Linked DNA regions of Homo sapiens: all the other regions are linked to region 3. Evidence: promoter capture Hi-C in 16 types of primary human blood cells and fetal thymus (Javierre and others, 2016). All regions are on one chromosome and are shown on one strand. The core of a region is centred on a gene start or on the middle of the fragment in contact, and the rest is flanking DNA. Distances in the headings are between cores, read along the strand shown. Region 1 overlaps LINC00857 (long intergenic non-protein coding RNA 857). Region 2 overlaps ANXA11 (annexin A11). Region 3 holds the start of SH2D4B (SH2 domain containing 4B).

Region 1 (3,808 bases), core at 345-2,844, 330 kb after region 3:
CATTCAATATGTAGATTGTGGCTTAATCCTTGTGTTTAAACTTGTCCTTACCTCCTCCTCCCAAACCTGTGTGGCTCAGACCTCCCATTCTACAGTTTCTTCAGTTCAATTTATATGACAAATAACTCTCCTTTCTCCCCTGGGTGGAGGGGACCCCTGGCTGAAGAGGGTAGAGAAAGTGGCCTAGGGTTTCCACTTATGCCTCTGTTTTCCTGTTTACAGCCTCACACTGTACCTCACCTCTTTAAGTGTGGATCCTTTCTTAGACTCTGGGGGTGAAGTAGCGAGAATCTATTGGCTTCTTCTTATTTTCTCCCTCTGGGGCATCCAAGTGAGAACATGCACCATTCTGCCAAATTACCACTCCTTTGTATACTATCTCCAAAATACGTGTCCAAATTCTTGGTTGCTGTTTTCTCCTCTCTTGTCCCTACTGTCCTTGAAGGATTTTACCTGTGCTCTTCCTCTACTGCCATTTTATTAGGATTTGGGGAGGGAGAGGAAATAAATTTGTGTTGCAAATCAACCATGTTTCATTGGACATCCATTTCTCTAGCAGTCTCTCTTTTGGTAACACCCAGTGGGTGGATGTTGGCACTTCTGGAACTATCTTCCATGTCTATTATCTTTTCTTTTCTACTTTCTATTTATTTATCCAAGTCTGCTGTTTTCAGGGAGGATTCCAATCTTTCAGTTCACTAATCAGCTCTTTAGCTGCATACATTCCACTCCATAGCTCATCCACTCAGGTGGTTTTATTTGTTTAAACTATGAATATATTTTTTGTTTTTTATTCCCATGATCAGTAATACAAAATGAACACATTGTTCATCTCTGACATCCCTAATTGATTCTTTCCTATCCTTTCTTATTTGAGAATATTCATTATACTTACTTCAAAGCACATTACTGGTTGTCTATTTGTTCTGTTTAATCTCCAGATCTGGAGCCAGACAGCTGAGGTTAATCTGTGGCTTCTCATGTTAAGCTATGTGACTTTGGACGAAGTTACTTAATCACTTGACACTTTAGTTTCTTCGTTTGTAAAATGGCAATAAAAATAGTCCTACCTTAAACTCTTATAAGGCAGGACTCTTGTAAGGTATTCATGTGTCTATTGCAAACATAAAATAGTCCCACTTTATGTTTGCAATAGTGCCTGACACATAAATGCTCAGTAAATATTAGCTATGATTATTATGTTTCCTCAGGTGGACGTCTCCCTTTCATGGTGGTGCTTCTCAAATGATATTTTTTGACAGGGAACTCATCTTTACCCATGAAATTTTCTGCAAGAAATCTGCTGGCCTAGCTTGCTGTGAGGGAGGGCTGGAAATCGCTGGATGAGCTTGTGCTCCATGTTGCTTTCAAGGAGAGTGCAGAACAGGCAGAGGCACTATCAGGTGGACCAGCTGTGCTCTCACAGCTGGTCTTTGGGATGTGGCTGCTACTTAACTCTTCCTTGGCTTTGCCAGCCATATGGGGCCCTGTCCTGTCTTTCATTCCTAACACAGTTCATACCAGGAGACAGACACTGCTGTCCTGGTCATCTTGTCTGCCGGGGTGGGGTTGAGGGAGATATTCAGGGTCAATTCATCTAGCTCCTTCCACGGGCATACTTGTTTAACCCTCTGTCAGTAGCCCTTTGGTCCCGAGTCTTGTTCCAGGCATTCACCACCTCTGGGTGTGGAATGCCTTGTTGCTGGTCCCATTATTGAAGTATATACTGTAGTATACCTATAGTATGTCCTTGGCTGCTGCTCATGAGCTGGGCTGCAGTATCAAATCAGATCCTGTCTGCTTTTGGCTTCTCAGAAACGTGTCAGTGCTTCTGATTCTCTGAACATTTCCTGTTATCTTTTTGAGAACACTAATTTTTTTCCTTCCCTGTCATTCCTGGAGGATGGGCCTGGGTGGAGAAATGGCAGCATGTGCTCAGTCCACTATCGCGAAAAGGGAAGTCAGAGAATGTATAGAAAAGATAAGAAGTAAGCAGAATCTTGGAGAATGAGTAGGAGCAGCCAAAGTGAAAAGAGGAGAAAATGCCATTGTAGGCTGGGGAGACGGCCCGAGCGAAGGTGTGCAGACAGGAGACCACAGGGTAGGGCGAGGGGACACAAGCAATGCGATGTTTCAAGAGAGGCGAGACATCTAGAACTTGTGGACTTCATTGGAATAAAATATATCAGACAAGCTAAGATGCAATCAGATACAGTGAGATGCATAAGACATCTCATTTCACACAAAAGCATACTTCTATTTGCAATACTCCTCTAGTTCTGCCTTACTACACAGGAGCTCTAACAAAATACATTTACTGAAATTGCTCAAAAAAGACATATTTATATGTGTGTGTTATAAGTGTATATATTGCACTATTGAGTATGTTCTCTACAGGAGAGAACTTCCATTTTAAATAGGCATGGATGTGAACAGCCGTACATGCTTAAAACTCTATACATATGATGGGGGAGAGAGTTTTCCATAGACTAGTTTCTGGCTCCATACTTGTTTCTCCTCCACTGCTGACATATTTCTGAAAACAGGTGCTGGGGAAATGTTTATTATTTAGATATCATCTCCGACCCTGCTGGCTGAATCAGAACAATATTCCTGGAAGCCCTTCCTACGCTGGAAGACTAGCGGTAATGCAACCACACACAGAAGTGACTGTAAACTACATAAAGCTGTCTCATCCCAAGCCAGATCCTAAAAATGCCTATGACCATTCCAACATGAGGGGCACGAGGAGCAATGAGATGGAGGGGAAATCAGAGTGGAAAGAGCCAGCCATCTTAACTACAGTCAAGTGCTGCACGAGGACATTTCAGTCAATGACAGACCATGTGGGACCATGATGGTCAGGCAGGGGCACATGACAGGCAGGCGGCAGGGGCAGGAAGGACTAGCAGCTCTTCCCTGGCTAGCAGCGGGGGTTCTGCCTCCACCTGCCTCCCCAGGACAGAAGCCAGATGAGCTGGACCATGATGGTCCCTTCAGATTATCATACCATATTTTTCCCGTACCTTTTCTGTGGTTAGGCATGTTTAGATAGACAAGTACTTGCCATTGTGTTACAATTGCCTAGCATATTCTGTACTGTAACACGCTGCAATGGCTTGTAGCCTAGAAGCGATAGGCTATACCAGGCAGCCTAGGCATATAGTAGGCTCTACCATCTAGTTCTGTGTAAGTACACCTGATGACATTTGCACAACAACAAAGTCACATAAGGATGCATTTCTCAGAACACATCCCTGTCATTAAGCAACGCATGACTGCATTTGCACTTAAAATCGCTTACTTTTGCAAAGTCTGTAAAAACATATTACCATGTCAAACATTGTTAAAGCCTTTCCCACCAGGACCTTGTAAAGAGCCCATGCAAGCAAGGGGCCTTGCAGTTTCCTGGTGAATCCGTCTCTATTGACAGCATTTGAAAAATGATTCTGGCAGACAGAAATCCAGCTGCTATCAGATCTCTAGCTGGAATGGCTTGTCAGACTGTGGTACCCCAGCGGGGGACAGAACCCAGGAGAAAAAGCAGGTTTAGAGAGAAAAAGTTCATTTCTTGACATGATAAATTTGAGCTTTTGAGGGATATTCTGGTAAAGGTACTAGTAGGCTGGTATTTATTGATACATCTGTAATTCTTGTACCTCCCTCCTATTAAAGAAAATTCAAACAATCCAAACGAATGCAGGGAAAGAGAAAAAAGAAACAACAAGAAAGCATATTGTACATGATATTTGAAATATTAAGCCACTGGTGTAGCCTGTTTGCTGACTAATTAGAATCTTAGAAAAGG
Region 2 (3,741 bases), core at 158-2,657, 340 kb after region 3:
CCTGCAAGGACAGCCCGGCAGCTGAAGGAGGGAGGGAGGTGCGCAGCTGTTGCCAGCCCTAGCCGAGTGTCACCATGCAGAAATATGGGGCCCTTGTTGCCAGAGCTCCTGTTTTAATATTTTTGAAGGATTTAAGCCAGAGTCTCCCTTTTGCAGCCCTTTCCTCCCTCCAATGAAATAATGCTATTGAGCTCCAAAACCTTCAGGAGCCCCAGGTTCTGGGAGGCAGCATGCAAACCACTGAGGCCCTGCAGGCGCACTCATTGAAAATAGGTGAGGTAGACGAGGCTGGGAGGGCTTAGATTTGCCAAGGCCCCTCAGAGAGAAGCCAGTTTCTCAGACGCCCCTATGCTCCACTGCCAGGGAACACATTTTCTGAATTCTTTGTCTTCCCCCCCCGACTCTTCCTAGGAGTGGCTCTTAAATATTGTAGTGTGTGTTTCCCTGGAAGTGCGCTATTGTGTTTATCTCGCTAGCTAGAGGGAAAGCATGATGCAGGCCAGGACTTTATTTTTTTCTTCCCTATCCTAGGGGGTGTAGCCCAGCCCCTGGTGCCTCCATAAACCCAGGTGGGATTGCTGTGAAGCTAATGAAGTGGAAGCTTCAGGTCCCCGGACTTGTAGCACCCTAGTGAGGGGCCGTGGGAGGGGCACTAGCAGTGAGTTCACAGAGTCATATGGTTTATAACATTTGCAAAAAACTAAGATTTTTTGTATTCTTTGTCCTGAAGAGGGTTCCTAAAATTGTATAAGCTTCAGGCCCCACAAAACCTGGACCTACTGCAGATGTTGGTACCAGTCTCACAGACTGGCTGCTAGTGTTTTATTTTAACTTTCCCCTAAAAAATATATGCCTGTTTTTTCAGAAAGCAGTTGAAGAATATAGTTCACCAGGCTGGTCAACATGGCGAAACCCTGTCTCTACTAAAAATACAGAAATTAGCTGGGCGTGGTGGCGCATGCCTATAATCCCAGCTACTTGGGAGGCTGAGGCTGCAGTGAGTCGAGATTGCACCACTGCATTCCAGCCTGGGTGACAGAGCAAGAGACTTCTTCAAAAAAATAAAAAAGAAGAAGAATGTAGTAATATTCTGTCTTTTTTTTTTTTTTTTTGAGACAGAGTCTCCCTCTGTTGCCCAAGCTGGAGTGCAGTGGCACGATCTTGGCTCACTGCAGCCCCAGCCTCCCGAGTAGGTGGGAGTATAGGCATGCGCCACCACGCCAGACTACTTTCTGTATTTTTAGTAGAGACGGGGTTTTGACATGTTTGCCAGGCTGGTCTCGAACTCCTGGCCTCAAGTGATCTGCCTGCCTCAGCCTCCCAAAGTGCTGGGATTACAGATGTGAGCCATTGCGCCTGGCAGAAGTAATGTTCTCTTTCTAAAGTTAGATGATAAAGGATGCTTATTTTATTGTGCTTTATAATTCATATATATGTTGTATTTATTGCTATATTGTAAAAATATTTTATAATAATACACGAAAAAAGCCAAATATGTTGATCCAAAAGGCTTATAATGAAGCCAGCAGTCCCCTGACACATCCTTCCTCTTTCCCTTTCTCCAGAGTTAATCATTTTTAACTATTTTTAATTAATAGGCTTATATGACTGTTTCTTAATTTATCAGTTTTGAAATATGTTGACTTCCTGCTTGGTAGATTAGGAACCAATACATACATCAATATTTAATGTATGCATTATTGTGACCATAAATTGTATTGTTCGATGCTGTGCAAGTAATGTGCCGTGGTCACACATTAGGAGTACAATCCTTCCTGTCCCAATATTCCTCAGGTGGATGCTTTCCCTCCTTGGGGGCCTGATTTTCTGTGTATCTATTGTTCCAAACTGGTCTGGTTGCTCCGCAGGCCTGCTGCTCAGCTGTTGTCCCGGGACTTCTTTTTACAGTCTTCTGTGTTAGATTCTCCTATTCCTAGATCCTATATATTTTATTTTCTTTATTTTCCTTATTTATGTCTCATTTTGCTGAAATCATCCAGAAGTTCCTAAGAAAAGTGCATGGGAGGTAGATTTTGTTTTGTTTTTTGTTTTTGAAGCTTGTGTGCCTGCAAATATCTCTATTCCTCCCTAATGGATAGAAATATCCATTCCAAATATCTCTATCCAGTAGTGGATAATTTAGCTGGCTATAGAATTATAAGCTGAAAATAATTTCCTTTCTGAACACTGAACACATTATTCTGTTATCTTCTAGTTTCTAGTGTGGCTGTTGAAGTCCAGTGTCCTTCCAGTTCCCCTGAAAAGGACCCTTGTTCTTTCTTTTCTAAAGTTTTAGTATCTTCTGCCTCTTCTCTTCTCAAATTTCACAATGATTGCTTTGCTGATCTTTTTGCTTTGTGGATATAACATTTTCTCTTCCGTCTCTAAGGATATTATTGATTATATTTTTGTCCTCTATTTCTCATCATTGTCTGTTTCTTTGGTTCTCTTCTATCTCTGAGGATATTATTGATTATATTTTTGTCCTCTACTTCTCATCGTTGTCTGTTTCTTTGGTTCCTTTTCTTCTGTTTTGGTCTCTCCCTTTCTTGGTGTAGACTTTCTCAGATGTCCTGTGACCCTTTGCTGTCTATATGAAGAGGGAGACCATAAAAATCTGATTAGAGTGCATAGGTGAAATGTACAGGAGGGGCAGGATTTTATCACATCTCTTCCCCCTTCGGTGTGTTTCCTGGAAGGCAGTTATTCCCCAATATTGCAAAATTAATCTCTCCTCAGCGCTGGTCTTCCCACTGTACCTGCTGTTGCCTCGGGCAGGAAGCAGCAACCCAGGCTTGAACTCCCATGGGCTGCCCCCGTGATGGAACAAAAAGAATCATCCTAGAGAACTGGGCCTGAGTCCGCCAGCAGCTCTGAGGACAGGAAGCCTCTCTACCCACCCTGCCCTGGGGACGATGAGCTCTAGCCTGGGAGTGGGGGATTCAGCACCAGCCCTCTTAGGGTCTTGCTGTATCACCTTGGCATGCCACAACCCTCTCTCTGGTTGTCAGTGTGACCATTTGTGAAATGGGGTGAGGTGGGGTCGGTGGGAGTGAACTGAGTCGTCTCTGAGGTGCTGAGCTGGCCTCTGGCATCCGGTTGTGAGGTCCTGGCTGATGGGGTGTGATGGCCCTGCCTGTGCAAATCCGACTGGGCAAATGCTGACTGGGCATGCGTAGCCTGGCCACACGGAAGCCACTGAGGGCCCAAGTCCCCTGGTGACTCATGTTGATTGGTAATTCAAGTTAGCACACCTGTGCCGAGCCTGTTCCCGACACATGGGAGAGGCGAGCACCTGGTTCCTCCTTGTGCCGTTGGAAAGGGTTTTTTTTGTAGTCTTGGTGGTTTAATATTTCCCTTGTTGAAGAAAGCTGGCTGAGTTAGGTAGACATGTTCACAGAGCTCTTATGCAAAGAGAACAGAGGCCTTTGGAAAGAGAATGCCATAGAAGGATCTGGAAGGAAAGAGAAGGAATGGTCACTGTATATATTAGTTTTCTTTAAAGTTTTTTTTGTTGTTGTTTGTTTTTGTTTTTTGAGACAGAGTCTCACTCTGTCACCCAGGCCGGAGTGCAGTAGCACAATCTCGGCTCACTGCAACCTGTAGCTCCTGGGTTTAAGCAATTCCTGAGTAGCTGGGACTACAGGCACGTGCCACCATGCCTGGCTAATTTTTGAATTTTAATTTTATTTTATTTTGAGACAGAGGTTTGCTCTTTTTGCCCAGGCTGGAGTGCAATGG
Region 3 (3,882 bases), core at 963-3,462:
TATACATGAAAATGTAGATGTCTATGTGTGACAAATCTCTGTATAAATATTTTTGCAGTTAAATTTTTAGGCATCTGTCTCCCTCCAAGAAGAGTCATCATGCAGGCATCATGAGTCCCCAGGGCTCAGGCCGGGTGGTGCTGGCAAGGTGGCTTGTCATTTCACCAGTTAGTGATGCAGCTGCCAGCGCAGCCCAGCCCGGAAGGCCCCAGCTTTGGCAGCAGCCACCTGCAGCCAAGTCACAGCTCTGCCCCAACCTCCCCGGCAGGGTCCTGCTGTGTCTTGTTCAAAACAAGGATTTAACACCATGTGCCACCTCTGTGCTGGGCCCAGGGGAGGAAGATAGAGTGGAGGAAGCCCTCACACACCAGTGCCTTTGAGCCCATCGGAGAGCCAGGCAAGCAGATGAGGAATGACAATGACAGGGTGGCAAATGCCAGGGCAGGCGTGGGTCCTACATGCCAGGCAGCCACAGAGGAGCAAGTACTGCCCTATGCAAGAGCATCCCTGAACACTCCAGGGCAGGGGGGCCACTCCTGATGGAGTCTGTCAGGTGGATGAAGGCAGAAGGACATTCCCAACGGTGAGAGCCACTCATGTGAAGACCAGAGACAAGAGCAAGCATGTCCAGATGATGTGGGTGTGGCCTGTGGCACCTGGTGGGGACTGGCCAGCAGTGAGCCTGGCATGGAGAAGAGCCAGATCACCAAGGGAGCTGTGTGCTCAGCCCTGAAACAGGACTTTGTTCTGGATTGAAAACTTCAAAGGGTGAAGGCACATAAGCCTTGCAAACTGTAAAGTGCATGCAGCATCCACAGAAACTACAATCCCTGGCAGGATTGAGTCCTGTGCCAAGCCAAGCCTCAGCAGCCTGCCAGTTTCTGGCCCAGGGGTCCTGGATGATTTCCTTCACCCACAGGTGTACCAGTCCATAGGATTGACTGGCACATGACTTTGCATACAAAACACCTGAAATGTAGGCTAGGCCCTTGCTTCTCATCTGCAGTTGCTACGACCATTTGGGGATGGTCATTCATTGTGTGGGACGTTCCCTGATGCCCTCTCTCCGGATGCCCAGTGGGGCTCCAGAGACAACCCACAGCATCCTCCTGCCGGAGGATCTGGAGGGAGAGGCACAGTCCACAGAAGGGGCCCTAGCCAAGAACTGGTGTGCCACGCATGCCAAGGAGAAAGGAACTGCATATCTACACCACACTCTGGCCCAGAACCAATGGCAAGGGTCACAAATATGCCGTCGTTCACCCTACCATTGCCAACCACGTCGGAGCACAATCTGAAGTCTCAATGGTGTCTTCCCAGAACTCGGGCCTTCCACAACAAGACAAAGCAAGTCCCAACTCCCCGACTCCAATAAGGGCCGCTGGACAGCCTCTGCAGCAGCCTCGAAGCCCTAAGGTCCTGGCCAAAAGGCAAAAGCACAGGCTCATGGGACCTGATGCCCACAAGACAAGGGTTTCAAGCCCCCAGCCCTCATCACCCCAGTGCCCATCTTGAAGAAGGGCACAGCCTGGCCCTGCTAATTTTTCTACCTCCTGGGGGACTGGTGGCCTACCTCTCTGTGACTCCCAGCCACGTACCTCGCTTGGTCTTTGGAGGCCTGAGACCCTCGTCCTGGGCCAGGGCCTCCCAAGTCTCCCGCTCCTTCCAGCGCCTCAGCTGCTCCTCCCGCATTTTGTAGAAGAGGATGTGCTTCTGCACATCGCTGAGCTCGGCAAGGAGCTCGGGGTCGATGTACATGTCGTGCAGGATCTGCTGCAGCATGATGCCACCTGGGATGCACGCACCAGAAGGGCAGCCAGCAGGGGAAGCAGGGCCAGGCAGAACGCCCGAGGGGCTGCTCTGCACTACGGACTGCTCAATCCGGGGCCACTCTCGGTGCCCCTTCTCTGTGCAGCATTGTCAGTTGGCCTCAGCTTGCAGCCAGCGACGAACTCATCTCCTCTACCCAGGACAGCAAAAGAGGCCAGGCAACAGGACCCAAAGGGGCAGGTGGGACTCTGCAAGGGGGAGCAACCACCAGGAGCAATCTAGTCCTTCTCCTGGGTCACCAAGCACGGCATCCCAGGAGAGCCCATGTCTTGGCATCACCTGGGGTTCTGAGACAATGGGAAGGGCCCAAGCCTCCAGCTCAGCCAGGAAATGCCCAGTCCCAGCCCTGCCTGGGCTGGTAGGTGTCGAGTGATCTGTTAGTGGAAGGTAACAATGACACCAGCTATATCAATGACACTGCCCCGGCCAGCTGGGAACTGATCTCTCCTCTGCAGATAAGAGGAGGAGAAGGAGGCAGACTTGCCTACTAAATTCCATGTCTTTTCAGCCAATTTCAAACACAGACCAGAGGAGCCTGCCAGAAGCTGCTGGGCCCCTCAGCCCTCTCAGCCCCTCTCTCTGCGGGTTCCTTCGCTGCCAACTTTCTTCCTTTCCAGAACATTTGGCATTCTGAGATGATGCGTTTAAAACTCTGCCTTGGGGGAGGAAAGATTTTTCCTCCTATCTGTGTTACAGCCAAGAAAGAAAACAAAATGGAATCAGTAGAGACAACTGGAGGGGATTTTATCTTGGAATTCCAGGACAGAAAGGAAGCAGACATCCTTTCCCTTTGGCCTATATATAATGAGATCCTGCAGCCATGCGTGGCTGACAGATAAACCCTCCAGGGGCCAGTTTTAATGGTCGTTGTTAATCTTGTTTGTTGCAGATGCCTGGAGTTGACCAAAAAGAAAGAAGATGAAACTGGCTCTTCTCTGTGCCCTGATCAGAAGCACACTGGAATGGCGGGATGTTGCCTTCTGCTGGGAGGGAAGCCACCCTCTCTTTGGTGTGTGAAGGTGGGTAGAAGCTGCCGTTGCTGAGATCTTTAGGGTGAAAGCTCACCCTAAATATGTGCTCAGAGCAAATCACAGATGCCTTCTTATTGGGACAAGGATATTGAAGCTCAGAGAAAGTAAGTGGCTTGCCTATGGCTTCCTAATGGACAAGTCACTGTATTGGGACTCCCCCGTTTTGAAATTTGACATCCACTAGCAACTATGAATCTGTTGATGGTTTGAAAACATAACCCAACCAAGGGAAAACAAACGAACCAACAGGATTTGGCACTGTGGCTTGGTTGGATTGGTGACCTTCCTGTCCCCTTCCTTGCCCATGAGGGTGGAAGGTGGATCAGGTACCCAAGAGTGATGGAAGAGGGGTGGAGAGTTGGCATTCTTCCCCCTCTGCAAGGTTAACACAACAGGAAGATGGACTAAGCAGATTCAGATGAGCTGTAAGCCCATAGGGTCAAAGCTCCTGCTCAGCTAGGCAATGTCCAGGTCACAGGAGTGGAGTCAGACGCCCCACCCCTCCCCACCCAGGTCCAGCTAGCTGGTCCCAGTGTGCCCAGACCTTCCTAGAGCCGCCACAGGACTCGCCTGTCCGCTGCAGAGCTGTGGCCCTGGACTCCCATCCACCCACCTCAGGGCTTGCACCGACTCCCCCACCGGGAGTCCTGGCTCCCCTCAGTTTCTGAGACCGGGGGTCTTCCCTAGCCTCTGCCCAGCTATTCTCTTTCTCCCCCTCGCCGTGGCTGGTGGGAGACCCCCGAGTCCAAAGAGGAGACAAGGGGAGGAAGGCCCCCAGGGTCTGGGCTCCTGCGGGCAGCTTCTTTTTGTCTTTCCCGGGCCGCCAGATACCTACGACCACAAGAGGGCACGGGGCAGGGACAACGCTGTAGGGAGCAGCAGGAATGGGCCGGCTGGAGGCGGGCGAGAACGGTGATGGTGCCACCCTGGAGGACCGTCGGGAGAGTGAGGCAGCCGGACTAGAATGACCCCCGCTAGCGCCCATTTTGTGCGATAGAGGGGATCTCGCTGGGGGCGGGGT

Evidence for each region. The method cuts DNA at HindIII sites, captures the fragments that hold promoters and counts their contacts. A CHiCAGO score of 5 or more calls a contact.
Region 1: a fragment that was not itself captured here is called in contact with the fragment with the promoter of SH2D4B in region 3 in 1 of 17 cell types (non-activated CD4 T cells); the score reaches 5.2 in non-activated CD4 T cells.
Region 2: a fragment that was not itself captured here is called in contact with the fragment with the promoter of SH2D4B in region 3 in 1 of 17 cell types (activated CD4 T cells); the score reaches 5.1 in activated CD4 T cells.

What each region holds. Positions count from the first base shown.
Region 1 is chr10:80,210,085-80,213,892 of GRCh38, reverse strand. All of the region lies in intron 1 of LINC00857 (long intergenic non-protein coding RNA 857), which reads right to left. Among named protein-coding and RNA genes, the nearest start is that of LINC00857, 4.3 kb to the right of the region's middle. The HindIII fragment of the contact is 7,999 bases long and covers 1-3,808 here.
Region 2 is chr10:80,191,183-80,194,923 of GRCh38, reverse strand. The region is part of intron 1 of ANXA11 (annexin A11); the gene reads left to right. Among named protein-coding and RNA genes, the nearest start is that of ANXA11, 12 kb to the left of the region's middle. RefSeq lists an enhancer at 1-564. The HindIII fragment of the contact is 1,305 bases long and covers 755-2,059 here.
Region 3 is chr10:80,536,232-80,540,113 of GRCh38, reverse strand. It overlaps SH2D4B (SH2 domain containing 4B), which reads right to left and starts at 2,212. Exons shown (of 8, transcript NM_001388272.1): 1 at 1,599-2,212. The coding sequence starts at 1,782. RefSeq lists enhancers at 369-508, 3,815-3,882. The HindIII fragment of the contact is 17,935 bases long and covers 1-3,882 here.